Linked DNA regions of Homo sapiens: region 2 is linked to region 1. Evidence: promoter capture Hi-C in human tissues and cell types (Jung and others, 2019). All regions are on one chromosome and are shown on one strand. The core of a region is centred on a gene start or on the middle of the fragment in contact, and the rest is flanking DNA. Distances in the headings are between cores, read along the strand shown. Region 1 holds the start of CRYBB2 (crystallin beta B2). Region 2 overlaps SEZ6L (seizure related 6 homolog like).

Region 1 (4,591 bases), core at 999-3,498:
GCTCAGAGGGATCAAATAATTGGCCCGGATCACACAGCAGGTGCAGAGCCAGGACTCACACCCACCTTCCATCTACTAATCCCATCTCTGACTGAGAATGAGGGTCTGCTCCAGTTTCAGGGAGCCCTGTAGACAATAGGGTGTGGCAAAACAGGTAAGGGAGAGAGAAACTGAAGTCTCCAAAGCCAGAGGCTGGTACTGGGAATCCCAGCATGCCAGCTATGGGCTGGGGAGGGACTTTCAGTATCAGCTCCAACTGTGTGGGTAGAGGAGACTGAGTCCCAGAGAGGGGCAGGGGTCGAGAGGGGGTACCCATGAAGAAAGATGCCAAGCCCATTTTACAGAAGGGCAACTAAGTCTGGGGGAGGAGCATTGCATGCCCCCTCCTCTGAGAGGTACCCACCTTGGGGTTGAGGGACTGTGGCTTGCCCGCCTGGGTCTGGTGATCTGAGGCCATGGTGGACTGTCCTGTGCAGGAATGACCTGGAAGACATGGGAAGCAGCAGTGAGGACCTGGAGGGGCCACTGGCTTTTTCACTCTGTGGGGCCTTGAGACCACTCCCCTCTGGCCCCAAACATTCTCTTTTTCTCCTGGTTTCAGACTGTCCCAGAGCTGTGGGGTCCGTAAGCAGCTACTTCAACTTCTGTCCTTAGCTTCATTTATTTCTATCCAGGCCAGCTGCAGGAGGAGGGAAAAACGAGGTCTACTCAAAGAAAGAGAGCAGTAATAAACTAGAGCTTAAATGAGGTCCAAAGTGGGTTCCCAACACTCAACCCCAGACAATGGATACCACACAGAATATAGAATGGTCAATCCCAGAACTTCTGCCTTTATGCAGTAATTTCTTAAATAAAATTGTGTGGAACAAACAAAACCTATGCATTGGCTGTATTTGGTGGTGTGGTGGTGCCCAGTTTAGGAACTCACAAAGTTCCCTGTTCCCCTGCTCCTTCTCCCACCCTCTCCCTGGGACTCCTCTCCCCATCCTGGTACCTAGATTTCTCTTCTCTGCCACTGGTTTTACTCCCCCATTAGTGAAATCATCTGATACAGAACCCACATTACAAGAAAGAGAAGAAATGGGTGCGACGGTAGAAATCCAGGCACTGTGGCAGGCAGCAGGGTAGACCTGCCTTAGCTAGTGAGAACATCAGAAAAGCCTGGAAAATTGTCAGCCTCTTCCCCCTTCCTGCAGAAGGGGTGGTCAAACCAGGCTGTGTTTCCCCAGGGGTAAGAGAGGAAGCCTGGCCTCCCTCTTCAGAGATAACGCCAGCTTCCAGAAGCCCCTTCCACATGAAAGGCCAATACTGGATGTTTCCCAGGAGGAAGAAATGCAGTTAAGCACCTTGGCAGCCAAATCTACTGCTCTCCCGCAAGAAACCAGCCCTCTGGGCTTGTCAGAGTGCCTGAGGTCCTGCCATATCACTTCCCAGTCCTGAGTGTTCACAGACTGAAGAAGCTCAGTTGGTCCAGTTCAGGAGCAGTCTCTGCTGCCTGCCAGAATTGAGACTCTGGGCAGGTCTCATCCTCTCCCTATGCCTCAACTTCCTGTTCTATAAAATGGGGACAGTAATGATGTCTAATAATACCTGTGAACAGGTTGTGAGGATTCAATTATGTAATGTATAAAACCGGAAGCACTTGGCCGTGGTCCCAGAACACACTCAGCATGCAGCAAATGGCAGCAATTGTGGCATTATTAGAGTCATTTCTACCATGCTTTAGTGGCATTGAAATCACCTGTTGCTGGGACCTGTCACATACCTGTGGCTGCATCCTATCCCCTAGCACTCCCAGAGGCTAGGCACAGAGTGGGTGCCCCCTAATTGCAGATGTGGAGGAAAACTGACTCACCCACCTAGAAACAATGCTGAACTGTCACTGGTTTGATTCTTGCAAAACCCTCAGTTACATTCTCCTCCTCAGCGACTGGCGAAACAAGGATGCTGATAGTCTGTTTAATATTAATAATAAAGAACATTGCCCCAATGCCCACTGTGTGCCAGGCACTGTGCTGGATGATCCCCTAACTTCTCTTGAATCCTTACAATAAAGAAGGCTTTTTAACCCCCTTCCCAGTTACCAGAAAAGAAAACTGAGGCTAACAGCATTGAAGTCTCTGCCCAAAGTCACTTGTCAGAATCTGGGTGCTCCCATGCTTGCGGACAGGGGTGAGGATGAGAGAAAGAAGGGAAGACAAGCAAGAGAGGCAATCTTACCAGTGACACCAGCCCCTGCGAGTGCCGTGAAGCTCGGCCAGCGGGAGGTGGCATTTATACCTTCCCCAGAAGTGCCGGTGCCAAGATGAGTGACCGCTGTGCTCCTGCGAAAAGCAGGGTGAGAATGCTGGATTAAGCTCTCACCAAAGCTCGGGTCAGCAAATGCCCACAGACATTGTGTCTCTGCACAATAATGTCATTAGCTTTCAGATTCGGCCGCGCCAGGGCGGTCAGGCGGCTGGGCAAGGAGATGCCCGCTTTGCATGCATCAGCCGTCCGGCTGCCAGGGCCAGGGGTACGCTGGGTTCACTGGTACGGTCAGTCAGGCCGTGAGGCATGGCAGACAGAGGAACATCTCAGTGGGCCTGGGGAAGAACAAGTAAAGAAGGGTGGTTTGGCAGAGTCTGGGCTTCATTCATCTACCCATTTATTCATTCAACAAATATTTGTTGGGCATCCACTTGGTGACAATCTCTGTTCCAGGGGAGTGTCAGGAAGAGGACCTACGCCAGCCCAGGCCATTCAGAAAAGCTCCTGGGAGGTAGCGCATCCCTCAGGGATGGAGAAGAGGAAGCCTGGGAACAGGGTGGGGGGACAGTTCCAAGCAGAAAGGGTCCATATACAAGGAACCAGCATGGTGTATTTCAAGAAGACCTGAAAACAGGTTAACAAAGCTAAAGCATGACATGTGACAAATAGGGCCTGTGCCAGGTGGCCAAGGTGGGCAGGGCCTGATGTTGCAGGGCCAGGGAGGCCAATTATGGAGAGTGCATTTTATTCTCAAGGCCCCTGGCTGTTTCTCTTTCTTTTCTTTCTTTCTTTCTTTCTCTTTCTTTCTTTCTTTCTTTCTTTCTTTCTTTCTTTCTTTCTTTCTTTCTTTCTTTCTTCTCTCTCTCTCTCTCTCTCTCTCTCTCTCTCTCTCTCTCTCTCCCCTCTCTCTCTCTCTCTCTCTCTCTCTCCCCCTCTCTCTCTCTCTTTCTTTCTTTCTCTTTCTTTCTTTTGAGATGGAATCTCACTCTGTCACCCAGGCTGGAGTGCAGTGGTGTGATCTCGGCTCACTGCAACCTCTGCCTCCCAGGTTCAAGCGATTCTCCTGCCTCAGCCTCACCAGTAGCTGGGACTACAGGTGTGCGCCACCAGGTCCAGCTAAATTCTTTTTTTTGCTGTATCTTGTTAGAGACAGGGTTTTGACATGTTGCCCAGGGTGGTCTCAAACTCCTGAGCTCAGGCAATCCATCCACCTTGGCCTCCTAAAGTGCTGGGATTCCAGGCATGAGCCACTGCACCCGGCCTGTTTCTTAACCACTGTCCTAGAGTGAGTTGCTCTTAGATCCCTACCACTGGCCCCATCGCTGCCACATGGGTGCCCAGCCTTTACTCACATTTCTTTTCTATTTTTTTTTTTTTTGAGATGGAGTCTCGCTCTGTCGCCCAGGCTGGAGTGCAGTGGCACGATCTCAGCTCACTGCAAGCTCTGCCTCCCGTGTTCACACCATTCTCCTCCTTCAGCCTCCCTAGTAGCTGGGACTACAGGCGCCCGCCAACACGCCCGGCTAATTTTTTGTATTTTTAGTAGAGACGGTGTTTCACTGTGTTAGCCAGGATGGTCTCGATCTCCTGACCTCATTATCCGCCCGTCTCGGCCTCCCAAAGTGCTGGGATTACAGGCGTGAGCCACCGCGCCCGGCCTTTACTCATGTTTCTTTAGTGCACACACCTTCCTTGCAGCCCAGGCTGTGTCTTGATCCAATCTGAGGCTTGGAGACTGGGTCAAGTATACCTGCTTTCCCCTGTCTCTCATTTTCTTAATGCACATATGCATGCACACGCATGCACACACACTACACACACATGCCCCAGCCCCCTAGCTGGGCTTTTCCTTTTGCAGCACTCATCACTACCCAACATTCTGTTACTCATTTATTTTCTGTCTTTCCAATGAGAAGATAAGCACCACAAAAGCAAAGAAGTTGTCCCCCTGGTTTACCATGGTATCTCCAGAGCCCAGTGCCTGACGCATAGTAGGTACTTGTTTTAAAATCCCAGGGCTGGCCGGGCACAGCGGCTCACGCCTGTAATCCCAGCACTTTGGGAAGCCAAGCCAGGCGGATCACCTGAGGTTGGGAGCTCGAGACCTGCCTGAGCAACATGGAGAAACCCCGTCTCTACTAAAAATACAAAATTAGCCGGGCATGGTGGCACATGCCTGTAATCCCAGCTACTCGGGAGGCTGAGGCAGGAGAATCACTTGAACCCACGAGGCAGAGGATGCAGTGAGCCAAGATCATGGCATTGCACTCCAACCTAGGCAACAAGAGCAAAACTCTGTCTCAAAGAAAATAAATAAATAAATAACATAAAATAAATCCCA
Region 2 (5,123 bases), core at 2,134-4,633, 1.1 Mb before region 1:
TGAGACCTTCCCTGATTGCCAAGGAGTTTGCCTGTTCCTTTGCTGCGATTCTACAACAACCTCTAAAACACCAATTAGAGTCCCTACTAAATGGCATCCTACGTATTTCTCTTTTAGGGCAGGCATTGCATCAGTTTTTTACATCAACATATTCTCCTGTGTCAACAGCTTTGCCTGGTGCATTCTAATTGCTCAATGAATGAACTCTACTGTGCCTGGTAAAAGGCTCCACACAGTACTGGACACATACTGGGTCCAATACTCTTCATGACATGGAGGAAAGGGTTCTTAAGCACTATAATAATCTGGACTGCAGGTTTTCTCCAGTTTATTTTAATTCCATGAACAATTATTAAGGACCTACAATGTGCCACACACTTGTGCAAAGCTCTGGGGACTGCAAAGACTACAGGTTCTACTGCTGAGGGGCTTACCTTTTGTCTCTCTTATACAAGTAAAACAAAAACAAAAACAAAAAACCTTCCTAAGGTAAGGTCATACACCTGCCCCAGCTCAGAAACTTTTGATGGCTCTTTATTTCCCATGAGAAAAAGGAACACATTCAGGGTGATTAGCATACTGAAGATAATGGATAACATGCACTGCATGGTCGCGATTTCTGCTGGGCTCTGACCAAATGATTTCTCTCTCTCTCCTCCCTCTCTCTCTGCTGGGCTGTGGCCAAATGATCTCTGCATTGTCATATTTACTGCTCCCCCAAACTTTACAAAGCAGTAACATTATTCCTATTTTATTGATCGGGAAACTGAGGCTCAGAGAGGTGAAGTTCCTTGTTCAAAGTCACGCAGTTTTAACTGGAAGAGGTAGGACTTAAAACCCAGATGTTTGAGCATTATGCCACCCTGCTTTTCCTTTCTTACTGTATGGGCAAAAGTTTAAGAATAAAATGTCCTAATAACCAGAAAATGAAGGAAAGCAAGCAAGCAAGCAAGAAAGAAAGAAAGAAAGAAAGAAAGAGAAAGAGAAAGAAGCAAGAAAGCAGGAAGCAAGCAAGCAAGCAAGAAAGAAAGAAAGAAAGAGAAAGAGAAAGAAGCAAGAAAGCAGGAAGCAAGCAAGCAAGCAAGAAAGAAAGAGAAAGAGAAATAAGGAAGCAAGCAAGCAAGAAAGAATCAAATGAATCAGGTGGAGCTTCCGTGTGTGTGTGTGTGTGTGTGTGTGTGTGTGTGTGTTTATGCACGTGCATGCGTGTGTGTATGTGTGTGTGAGATAAGCAGAGTATCAAGGGATTTTCCTTCTGGGAAATACCTCAGAATTTGTCAGCATGTTCCCTCTATCCCCACAAGCTATTTTAGCAAAGCATTGAGTTAAGAACTCCTACTCATTCGCCAAAACCCAGCTAAAGTTGGCCTGGTTGGGCAAAGACAGAACCAAACTAGTTAGCATAACAGTAAGCCTGACTCAGACAATCCTCCTGAGACTTCCTGCTAGACGAGGCAGCCTCTGTGAGGTACTCTCCTGGGGTTACCTGGAGCTCCACCCCATAGCCAGTGTAGACTGTCACGTTGTATGTGCACTCCAGAAAGTTGTTGAGGGGCAGCAGTGGGTAGTCGCTGGAGTCAATGTACCCCTCAGGATTGGAGAAGCTCACACTGCAGAGAGCTGGAAGGAAGGACTTTAATTAGGACACCAAAGACAACTTGGATGTAAGCTCAACCATGGGCTGTGGGGTGGAATGGGGGCTTTAGGGGAACCTGCATTTTGCTGTTCCCATCTGTCCTTCTGCTGTTAATTCCTCAGCTCCAGAATTGACATGATAATAAAAATAGCAATAATTGACACAGAATGATCACTTACTATATCCTGCTAGGCACCATTTTAGCTAGTCAACAGGGGTGACCCCACTTATTCTCATAGGGACTGATAATATTTCATCCCCAGTTTAGAGGGAAGTAAACAAAAGCTCAGAGAGGGGCCGAGCTCAAACAGCAAGCAGGATTTGGACCCAGAGCTCACGTGCTTTGAAGGGTGGCCACATTGCACTTGTCCAAAATCCATGTATGCTTGACAATTGGGGGTCCTTCTCCCATTTTAAAGATGGTAGAGAAGACTGGAACACAGAAGAGCATTTTATCAAGTCTAGAAAATACATGTAATGCTAAAAGCAAATGTGCTTTGAAAAGGCTAGTGGCTTTGAAGCAGGTTAAATGAAGAATTCCGTTCCAAGATGAAAAGGTTTTGAATCTTGCTCATTAGCTGTGTGACCTTTGGCAGGTTGCTTGGGGGTCTCAGGGTTTCAGTTGTCTCATCTTTAAAATGGGGATGTTGGCTGAGTGTCCTGGCTCATGCCTGTAATCCCAGTGCTTTGGGAGGCTGAGGTGGGAGGATTGCTTGAGCCCAGGAGTTCCCCAGCCTGGACAATAAGCAAGACCCCCTTTCTACAAAAAACAAAAAAATTAGCTGGACATCATAGTGCATGCTTGTAGTCCCAGCTACTCAAGAGGCTGAGGCAAGAGGATCACTTGAGCACAGGAGTTTGAGGCTGCAGTGAGCTATGATCGTGCCATGGCACTCCAGCCTGGGCGAAAGATCAAGACCCCTTTGCTAAAACAACCCCCCAAAACAACAAACAAATGAAATGAGGCTATTAATTCTGAGCCACAGGGCGAAGCTCATAGTCAGTGCTCAATGGACGGTAACTGATGGTGGGGCCGGGGCTTCTTGAGATTCCTCTACCCACATGCCCTGAACATAGTGAGTGCCTCATGGCTGTTTCAGGATGGCTTCAGGAGTTGGGGGCTGCATACCTGGTGCCTGCTCGGTGGTGATGACCGTGGTGGTGATAATGGTGGAGGTAGTGGTCTCCTGGCTCTCCTCTGAGGCTGACCCAGTCAGCTCATTCTCACCTTTGTCCATCAGGGCCATGGGGCTGGTGTCCTCCTGGGGGGCCTCCTGGGCCATGTCAGGCCCAGGCTCCCCGGGTTCTGGCCTCTGGGGGAGTGTGTGGGCCACATAGGGCTGCGAAGTGAAGGGGGAGATTTGCAGGGGTGCGGGTGTTGTAGGGACCGCACTCTCCTTTCGGTCCAGCCAAAGGGGCACTTCTGATGCCTCCTCGGAGGCCACGATGGGGTCCGGGTCCCCCGGTGGGCCAGGCTTCTCCGTGGAGGAGGAGAGGAGATCTAGGCCCTGGGACGCTGGCTGGGACCCTGCCCTTTGGACAGTGGCTGCGGAGGTGGCCTTGGGCCTCAGCTGCTTCCTGGCAGAGTTCACCTGCTTGAGCGAAGGCAGTTTCTTCTTGGGGGGCAAGGCGTGCTTGGGGCGGGCCTCCTCTGGAAGCAGCGGTGACAGGGCTGGGATGTCGTGATGTGCAGAGGGTGCGGTCCCATCCAGCACCAGCTCGCCCAGCACTTCCGCCGACTGTGAGGAACTGGGGGGCGCTGTTACCACTCTCTCTTCAGGGTGCTCTTTGCCAGGACTGCCTCTCTCCGGGGCTCCTGAGGGCAGGAGGTAAGGACCCAAAGGGCTAGCATCTCCCTCGGGAAGAGCATCTTGGAAGAGGAGAAAAGACACCAGTTAGTTTGGGGAGATTTAGGACCTTCACCTGCTGTCAGACTCTGAGGGTGGCCCTCCTAAGGGCGGTGCCCAAAGCTCGTCCGGCTGGCCTCTAAACCAACTTCTCCTTTCTCCCTCCCTCCCTTCCTTTCTTTTTTCTCCTCCTTCCCTCTCTCCCTCTTTCTCTTTTCTTCCTTCTTTTCCTCCCACCCTCCCTCCTTCCTTCTTTCCTTCCTCCTTCCTTCCTTCCTTCCTTTCTTTCTTTCTTTCCTCCCTCCCTCCTTCCTTTCCCCTTCCATTTTTTTCTTTCTTCCTTCCTCCTTCATTTTCTTCCTTCATTTCCTTCCTTCTTTCCTTCCATCCATCCTTCCTTCCTTCCTTCCTTCCTTCCTTCCTTCCTTCCTTCCTTCCTTCCTTCCTTCCTTTTCCTGAAGACTTGGGCTTGATCATGCCAGGACTGAGCTAAGCATTAGGAGTATAGAAACAAAAAGCACAGGGGCCTCACTGCCTGGTTGTATATGTACTGGGAAGGGGGATGGGAAAGTAGACACAATCATATTTGATATGATGAATGCTTGGAAAGAGAAAAGCTTGTGTGCTAAGAGAGCAGAGAGGACGGGCCCTAACCCCGTCTGCAGGACAGGCATGCCATGTACAGTTGGGCAGATTGTTCCCTGTACAAAGACATGCAGCTAAGAGGATGAGTGGGGATGGACACCAGGCCACACTCTCTTTTCTAAGCTGTGTGCTCTGGCTGGGCTTGGGGGATGGGGGAGGAGAGTTTTTTTAAATTTAAATTTTAATTTTAAGTTCTGGGGCCTATGTGCAGGATGTGCAGGTTTGTTATGTAGGTAAACATGTGCCATGGTGGTTTGCTGCACCTATCAACCCACGCTAGGTATTAAGCCCAGCATGCATTACCTATTTTTCCTAATGCTCTCCCCTCCCCCAACTCCACCCCGCAACAGGCCCCAGTGTGTGTTACTCCCCTCCCTGTGTCCATGTGTTCTCATTGTTCAACTCCCACTTATAAGTGAGAACATGTGGTGTTTGGTTTTCTGTTCCTGCCTTAGTTTGCTAGGGATAATGTCTTCCAGCTCCATCTATGTCCCTGCAAAGGACATGATTTTGTTTGTCTTTATGGCTGCATAGTATTCCATGGTGTACATGTACCACATTTTCTTTATCCAGTCTATCATTGATGGGCATTAGGTTGATTCCACGTCTTTGCTATTGTGAATAGTGCAGCAATGAACATGTGCATGCATGTATCTTTGTAACAGAATGATTTATATTCCTTTGGGTATATATGTAATGGGACCCAGTAATGGGATTGCTGAGTCAAATGCTATTTCTGGTTCCAGATCTTTGAGGAATCTCAGCACCATCTTCCACAATGGTTGAATTAATTTACATTCCCACCAACAGTGTAAAAGCAGGGTTGGGGGAGGTACATTTTAAACTGAAGGAATGTAAGAGTGACCTTGTGGGAGACACAGAAATGTTTTAGGATTCAGAGTCACGAGGCAGATTCAGAACAGAGGACTGTGTGAAGACCCATGGAGGCTTGGAGGCTGGGCAGAGGTGGGCACAAAAGAATTGCAAGGGGTTTT

Evidence for each region. Contacts are between HindIII fragments. The study calls those that stand out against the background at their distance.
Region 2: a contact is called between a fragment that was not itself captured here and the fragment with the promoter of CRYBB2 in region 1, in 1 of the 25 tissues and cell types used here (dorsolateral prefrontal cortex).

Annotation. Positions count from the first base shown.
Region 1 is chr22:25,217,296-25,221,886 of GRCh38, reverse strand. CRYBB2 (crystallin beta B2) reads right to left here and starts at 2,248. Exons shown (of 6, transcript NM_000496.3): 1 at 2,221-2,248; 2 at 404-483. The coding sequence starts at 457. The HindIII fragment of the contact is 11,576 bases long and covers 1-4,591 here.
Region 2 is chr22:26,290,789-26,295,911 of GRCh38, reverse strand. It overlaps SEZ6L (seizure related 6 homolog like), which reads right to left. Exons shown (of 17, transcript NM_021115.5): 2 at 2,766-3,506; 3 at 1,487-1,620. Among named protein-coding and RNA genes, the nearest start is that of SEZ6L-AS1, 47 kb to the right of the region's middle. The HindIII fragment of the contact is 7,707 bases long and covers 1-5,123 here.